Linked DNA regions of Homo sapiens: region 1 is linked to region 2. The links are contacts of gene promoters, found by promoter capture Hi-C in human tissues and cell types (Jung and others, 2019). All regions are on one chromosome and are shown on one strand. Each heading gives the region's core, a stretch centred on a gene start or on the middle of the fragment in contact. The rest is flanking DNA. Distances are from core to core; before and after follow the strand shown. Region 1 overlaps KCNT2 (potassium sodium-activated channel subfamily T member 2). Region 2 holds the start of KCNT2 (potassium sodium-activated channel subfamily T member 2).

Region 1 (4,178 bases), core at 1,150-3,649, 160 kb after region 2:
TAAGTAAGTTGGACATCAGAAATGAGTCTGGGTTTCTCTGACCATGCTCTGCCTTCTTTTTCATGCATTGAAGCCTTATCAGTAGTTTGAAAGCAATTCTTTTTTCAGGGGATGACATGTTGTGGTGAAAATTATGGTGTTTTCCAAGATTCAACTTTATCCTAGGAGATCCATTAGAAAACATAGAGCAGTGGAAGAATAATTTACACTTTCATTTAACTTTTCCTAATATCATTCTCTTTCCAGACCTTTGGTAAGAGTTAGAGAGAAAGTTTTCAAGGCTCTTCCTGCTCTCGGTGGCCTGACTTCTCTATCTGCCTAGATGCTCATAGAGGTAGACGGATTTCAAGATCATCTAGAAGCTGATAACTGCAGCAGTCCAAAAAAACGTTGTTAATTCTTCTGTCTTTCCAGACAACTTTTTTCGTCTATCTTCTCTGTCAGTTACTCCACTATTCACCCTATCCCTTAAAAGAAGTGAAAAAAACTTGGCATATCTGGACTCCTCCCCTTTCTTCACACTGAGTATTCAATCCATTGATAAGCCCTATTGGCTCTACCTCCCAAATCTTTACATCCAGCTCTGCACTGTCACTACTCCTTTTATGCTCCATTATCTCTTGCCTGGATGATCTGGTCTGTCTTCAACATAATTGCTCCCTTATAATGCTTATCTCTCTGACCCCAACTTACATCGTACTTTCTCTCCTTCAATAGGCTTCCTCACCACAGCTTTCTTTTTGTTCCTTGATGATGTTATGATGATTCCTGACGTGTGGGTTTTGAACTAAATGTTTCTGATTCCTTGTATGTTCTTTACTTAGCTTTCGGCCTCCTTTAGGTCTTGGCTTATATGTCAAATACTTAAAGAAATCTTTCTTGACAACTCAGTTCAGGGTCTTAAAAATATTGCTACACCATCTACCACCAACTGCTCTGTAATACATGTTTTCCATTATTTTCGATCATTTGCTTGTATCACAGTTTTTTTCTTTTGATAACATAAAATATGTTCTGGAAATGAAACTGAGTTTTTATCATACATTTGAGGCAAAATATTTCATTGAAGATGGAAAGAAAGAGAAAGAAAAAATGAAACAGTGAAACAGTGATTTTACTTTAAGTTCAATTTCATCCAAAGCGATTAACAATGAAGGCCAATTAATGAACTATATTATTCTTTTCATACTAGCCATGTTTTGAACCTTGCAACAAATATTTAAAACAGGGATCAAAACTTTATAGATCTACATTTCTAATGGGTAAAGACAGGTGGTAGTAAAAAGAGTGATATTAAGTGAGTTCTTTTACATTACATAAGTGGAAGGAAGACACAGTAGACAAATTTTTCACTTAGGAAAGACAGTATAGCTTAGTTAAATTTCATCTTATTTGGAACATTTGTCTTAGTTAATTAGTAGCTTAATAACTATTACTGGTTTAGTTCACTAGGTTTTAAATGTGGACTTAGAATACAGCCCCTGAATAAACAAAGTACTTGTAGGTAACTGGCTCTCTTCCTAATTGATATATCTCAAAAATGAAGATATGTCTAATTTCAAAGATTTCACAGAGAAGGCTTATTTAACTTCCACAAAGTTGGGGGTAATTGATGAAAAGCTTTATTGTATTTCTAGGGCTACCTCCTATGAGTAGAGTGAATCTTGGTCAAGATTTTTACCCTTACTGCCCTAAGATGCTGCTTCTTTAGAGAAACGAGTTGGACTAGATCAATCAGTTATTCCCAACCAGTAAGCTGTGGTTCCACAGCTTGCTCCATACTTTTCATCAGTGTCATCATGGGTTTGTTATTCTATGACATTGATAATTGCTAAGAATGAAGATAAAGACAATTAGAATAATGACCGTTAAATGTTATTTTTAGTTGAATGCGTCTCATGGAGTGAAAAAGTATAGAGAATAGTATATTTATTGTACATGTTGGATTTAAAGAAATCTATCTTTTGCTTAATTTTTTTGTCATGTGTTTTGAAAAAAATACAGAGTAGAAGCTTTTATTGAATGGTAGCATCTTAATTGCAATATTATTGCCTACCTTAATCTCCTTGAGTTTAAAGAATCTGATATGCTAAGTCTCTGACAAATTTTCTAAAAATTAAAGTCATAAGAGCAATGTCCGTTAGGTTAATGCTAACACAGACTATGTTTTCCAGTAACTTTCTTTAGTTTAGAATGTGTCATTGACCTTCTGACACTGCTCTTTGAACAAATATCATTGATCAGGAAAACAGTTGTAATTTGCAGTAATTTTTTTTTTTTGGTCTAAGAGGCCATTCTGTAAAGATACTGATGTATTTGATACTAGCTTATAAGCAATTAAATGTACCATTGACAGAAAGGTTAGTTGAATGCTCATGGACTGCTCAGCTTCCTTTCAACAGTGTTGTTACTCACATATGGTTATGTTTGTATATTACAGAATTATCTATGAATATTATAGTCCATGAAATGGATATAAGTTCATTAACCATCTCTTAGAAGGGAGAAATTTTTCAGTTGATTTTAAGCAGAGCTTATTATGAAACTGAAAGGGCTATCATTATGACAAAGTTTCTCTGTTGATGAACATGATATTTTAATATTACACTTTAAGAATTGAATTCAAATAAGTAGTTACATAAAAATAAGAGTCAGTCTTATTGTGAGAGTAATTCTCATTGCTTACAATGTGAAGAGACATGTTAAGCTGTACTTTCTCTTTTATTTTTAATGGTTACATTTGGACCATTTCTGATAGAATAAAACAAAGCTTATTTTGTGCCTCATTTAATTTCCAGAAAATGTTGACTAGAGACTATTTGGTCTTGTTATCTGGCAGCAGCTAGCAAGATATTCTTTTGGAAATGCAATAAATGTGTACAAATCGTTTAAATTAGCTGATATTTATTTGGTCCTATTTCATATTTCACATGTGCAAGGACATTTAAATTGAGTGTTAATCTTACTAACTTCTTGATAGTAAAGAAGATGGGATGTATACATATATTATTTTATTTTTATCAAATCTGTGAACATATCTTTAAACATATAATGGAAATAGTGTGTAAGCTAATATTTCTATATTATTTCTTGGATATACACTTTACTTTTAAGGGCTGAATGAGATAAGTAAAATAAATTTAAGCAAAAAGAAAAGTAGGTTGTAGAGAATAAAGGGCTCACAACTTAGAAAATCCTTTTAGACTGAATTTAGTAGCATTTCTGTATCTATTATTTGCTCTGGTTAGAGCTATAAATTCACTTGGGTGATTTTCATGGGCAGTATTAAAGTGATTTTCAGCCTGAGACTAATAGTTTAGTGTAAATATATTTGCTGCTTGGGGCAGTAGGAACCACTCACAATATCAGTAGATATTGATTTACTGATGACCTCAAACACTTCCCAAATGATTTCATTCTCTTGCTTAAAATTCTTCATTTGTGCTGTTAGAGTCTTCAGGGTAATGCAAATATCTTAGTGTTGTATATGAAATAATTTATAATTTGTCCCTGCTTTCTTCACTGGCCTCATCTATTCACATTTGCCCTACTCGAAATGCTTTTGTTTATGATCATACTGCACCAGAGTAATGCATTTTACAGTTGACTTTTTGATGAAAAATTTTATTAAATCTTCTTTATAACCAGTAGAATTTGTTTTTAACTGGTCACGATGTTGAAACTTTTCCTATCAAGAATTCCCTTTTTTTAAGGTAAACTGATGAGAGGACGACGAAATATAAATTCAAAGGAAAGCAGAATAGGCATTATGCTTGCTTGTTTTTGAAAGTTAAGCCTTAAAAAAAGGAAAAAGGGAAACATAATTCTTAGAACGATTGACCTTTTGTATTATTGTATTACTGGGAAGGGAGTAAAGGTATATTTAGAAACGGATTTCTGATATCACAGTGAGCTTCAGAAAACCAGTGTAAGTTCTTTCTAATATTAAAGTCAGAAAAGTTTATATGAAGAAATATTTACATGTGCATGGAGGCTATGAACATGCATGTGGTCATGTGATACATACCTGTAGACCCACACATACACTCCATAGGTATACACACACACACACATACTCTCTCTCTCTCTTATGTTTTTTGCAAGCTCATTTCTTCTGTAAGCCACCATTAAATGATGTAGTTCCTCAGGGATCATTTCTAGGCCCTTTTTTAATTTTA
Region 2 (3,855 bases), core at 326-2,825:
TCAGTAGTCATTGTATTTCATTTGATGTTACAAGTTTTGGTAATTTCTTCCTTCATTTCTAGCTTCTTAAATAAACCCTCTGCTACATGACCTCTACTGAGCATTAATCATGCCAAATTAATCACTATTTTCTGGATAAGCCAAATATTCTAAAAAATCCCTATGCCTCTACTCATACTATTCTCTCTGCTTGCTTCACCTTTGCTCTTTTCCCTAAAGTAGGCTGCGAACGAATATAGAAGGCTTGGTTCATTTTCAATGTCTTCCTTGACCCCCACCTCGAAGAAGTATGTGTACCTCACAGGTATTTCCAAATCCCTCTGTATGTTCTTTGATTATTGTCTCTCACATCGTATCCATTTATCAAGGAACAAGCTTGTTCCTCCACACAGAGCGGTTCTTAAGTAAGGGCAGGAGAAGCCATATGGTTATCCTCCGGCCCAGGCTGTCAGGTGGTTGGTATTCGGTCTGTATATACTCTGATGCAATCAGTTTTTGAAGGAAAGAACGGTAAGCGCAAATAGAACCATAGCTTGTGTAGCAGGGTTCATGTAAGCAGTGGTTCTTACTGAAAAACAGACCCTGTTCTCTCGGGCTCACTTCTTCCTCCGTGTGAACCACTAATAGGAGGGGACCGAAGGCTGAGGCCAGGCCACCTGGAAGCCCACAACGCTGCTAGTAGCAGCGACAGCAGTAACAGCAACTCACCACTGTAAAATCCTCAGTGCGTTTCCATGTGCTTTCCCTGTCATCTAAATGCTTCTCTTCAGCGGCCTAAGGTGGCCCTTCTTTTTCCCCGAGTTCAGGGAAACACCTCCCTTCTTTCAGAATGTGAGAAAAAAATGGGATTTTCCTGGGGCTGAGAGTGGGGATTCCCTTTCCAGAAACGTGCAATTTTTTCATCCCGCCCACCTGGACTGAAGGCAATCAAAGCGAGGGAGCTCGTGGCATAGTGGAACACTCCAAGCACCCTGGCCCCCCTCCTCCCAGAGAAGGGTCTGGAGCCCCGCAATCCGCTAATTAGCTCGCCCCCATTGGTTGTCCCCAAGGCACCCCCGTGCCGTCACTGTGCTATGCTAATGAGGGGGAGTCTCATTGGCTGGGCCTCCAGCTCCATCTCCACAGGGAGATTGCGGGGAGAGCCGGGTTGGCCGCGTCTGGGGCCGAAACCCACCGCCCCCGATTCCCGCCAGCTCAGGGCTGTGCCGGATGCAAGCCCGCCCGAGGGAACAGTAGCCGGGAGGCTGCCCTCTGGGAGGATCTGGCAACTGCCTTTAAGGAAAGTGCTTCACCATCAAGCGGCGCTCACTCCCACCCCTCTCCCCTCTTTCTAGGCACCGCGCGTCTTTTTCGGCGAAGTAACTTTTTATACCCGCCTCCCCCTAGTCCTGGGGACCAGAGGCGGTGCCGAGCCTGGGGGCGGTTCCTTGGCAGCGTTGATTCTTGTCAGAGCCAGACTTTTGCTCCTGGGTTGGGTTTGCATCATCCCCATTACACCCTCGGGAAAGAGGAGCCAGCCCCCTTTCAAGCCTTAGCTTCCGGCTCCAAGCGGACCCCCTCCCCCTCCCTGTCCCCTTCCCCTTCTCCCATCCCTCTCTCGGCCACAGCGTCTTGTTAGTCCTCTCCCTGTACTCCGCAATATTTTCTTTCTTTCTCCCTCCTCTCCTCCATTTGTTGTTTGATGTTTCCCACTCTTTGAGGAAGGATGGTTGATTTGGAGAGCGAAGTGCCCCCTCTGCCTCCCAGGTACAGGTTTCGAGATTTGCTGCTAGGGGACCAAGGATGGCAAAACGACGACAGGTGAGTGGTGTGGTGGAGGATTGTTCTGTAAATATTGCTGAAAAAGAGACGGAAATGGGAGGGCCGAAGTGGGGAAAGGAGGGAGAAAAGGAAAACGGAGCCAGAGAGGGAGACTAGGCTGGGGGAGGGAGTAAAAGAGACTCTGATTTGTCTCTCCATTTTGACTCTATATAACTGTTGCTATAGATAAGGAACTCTTTTTCTTTACACTTTTCTTATTCTTGCAAGGTATTTATTGCATTCATTTGGTGCTTATTCTTTTGTCTATCTGTGCTTTTCTAGGATGTGTATAAGGCTGGTATCAGAGGTACAATACACCCAAATGGTATGCAATATCATTTCCAGAAAATTTGCATTTTTTCCTTAGGTGTGGTTAATCAAACTCAAAATTGCATGCAAGTTGTTTGAAAAAGCACATTAGAAACTTAAAATCTCCTGAGTCTATTTACCTCCTCCTTGTCTGTGTTGTCTTGAGTAGGTATCTACTTGGCACTGGAAATTTTATGCTGTTTAAACATTTTGGAGTTTTAAGTAGACAATTGGTTTAAATATGTAACAGGTAGTTAGTGAAAATGACAACCTTTTTAATACAATATACTCACTTTGAACAGGTGACTCTGACCATTATGAATAATGATGTTTGTATAACATGATACAACCTTTTCATAACTAGTATATTTTTTTAACTGAAACAGAATATATGTCTCAAAATTAAAATTAAGTTTCAAAACTAGAATATTTATTGTTAGCAAAATATTGTTCATGTGTTTTATTTATAGCATTACTGCTTTGCACAAACTTCTGAAATTCCTCTGTCTATTTCTGTCTCAAGCACATTTTGTATTTCAGCGAATTTAGTATTTTCTGGAATAGTCATCCCATATATCACATGCCACATTTCTTTGTTTTAAAATAATACATGTATACTAACTAGGTTCTCAACTCAATTGAAATGTTTCATTGAAGTTTAGTTTAGTATTGATGTGCTATTTTAGTTATATAAAAGATCCATTATTGGTCCAATCCAAAATCCCCTCCTCATTCACCACTGACCAATACACTCTATTTCTTTTCTTCACCTTTTCAGCTCCCAATACCAACTCCTGTCTCTACACACTGAGGATTTTATCTTGAGCATCAATTATGGGCATCTTGTTTGGTCTCATATTAGTAATTTGAAAGGAGATGGATGTTTTGTAGAGGATATTTTGGTTCAATCTCTTTTTTAGGCAAAACCACACATATTGGCTAAAAATTTAAAGAAGTAATACCAATTTCTCAGTATTCTTGTAAAGTGTTTGGGTAAACTGAAGATAAAGAAAATAATTTTTAAGTGAATTTGTAATACAAATTGACATTTAGATAAACTGCATTAGCCTGGTTAAATGGCTTAGTAAGTGTAGCATGGTGTTCCTAGTGACTGAATGTATATTTAGTTCAGGACCTCAGGATCATTATATAGAATAGAAATCCTCTTTGTAGAAAGTGTGAGATAGATTAAACACATAAAGCACATACTTTGGTTATAGTGATGGTATTGTTGTTTGTTTGTTTTAAATATCATATCCAATATGTTAATTTTCATGTGGTTGCCCTCATTTTTCTAAGGATGCTGCAGAAATATTTTAGTAATTAAGAATTTTGGTTAGTTGAACACTGCCTAAATGGATCAGTGCCATATTAAAAAAGTTTTGCAGAATGGTTAAAATTTTATGTTCTATTAAAAGGTTATGCTAGCCCAACTTTAACTTAAAAAGCAGGCCACATTTACTACTAAAATAAGTTATTAAATATTTAAAACAATCATTCAACCATTTTTAAGGATTTGGCTACTTTTGTGGCTTCATGGAAAACTATTCTTTGGTTTTGGTTCCATTTGTTGTTAATCTTTGAAGGCAAGATACTTGGAATCAGAGAAACCCAGATTCAGTCCTTGGCTGTTTCCTTCACTAGCTGAGTGGCCTTGGGAAAGTCATTCAGCCATTATGAGATTCAGCAATATTATTTTTTATAATGGGAATTATACTGTCTACCTTATAAAACTGTGACAAGAGG

Evidence for each region. Contacts are between HindIII fragments. The study calls those that stand out against the background at their distance.
Region 1: a fragment that was not itself captured here is called in contact with the fragment with the promoter of KCNT2 in region 2 in 2 of the 25 tissues and cell types used here (adrenal gland and liver).

The regions. Positions count from the first base shown.
Region 1 is chr1:196,444,008-196,448,185 of GRCh38, reverse strand. All of the region lies in intron 8 of KCNT2 (potassium sodium-activated channel subfamily T member 2), which reads left to right. Among named protein-coding and RNA genes, the nearest start is that of MIR4735, 140 kb to the left of the region's middle. The HindIII fragment of the contact is 3,543 bases long and covers 628-4,170 here.
Region 2 is chr1:196,606,160-196,610,014 of GRCh38, reverse strand. KCNT2 (potassium sodium-activated channel subfamily T member 2) reads left to right here and starts at 1,575. Exons shown (of 28, transcript NM_198503.5): 1 at 1,575-1,800. The coding sequence starts at 1,706. RefSeq lists an enhancer at 724-1,240. The HindIII fragment of the contact is 13,382 bases long and covers 1-3,855 here.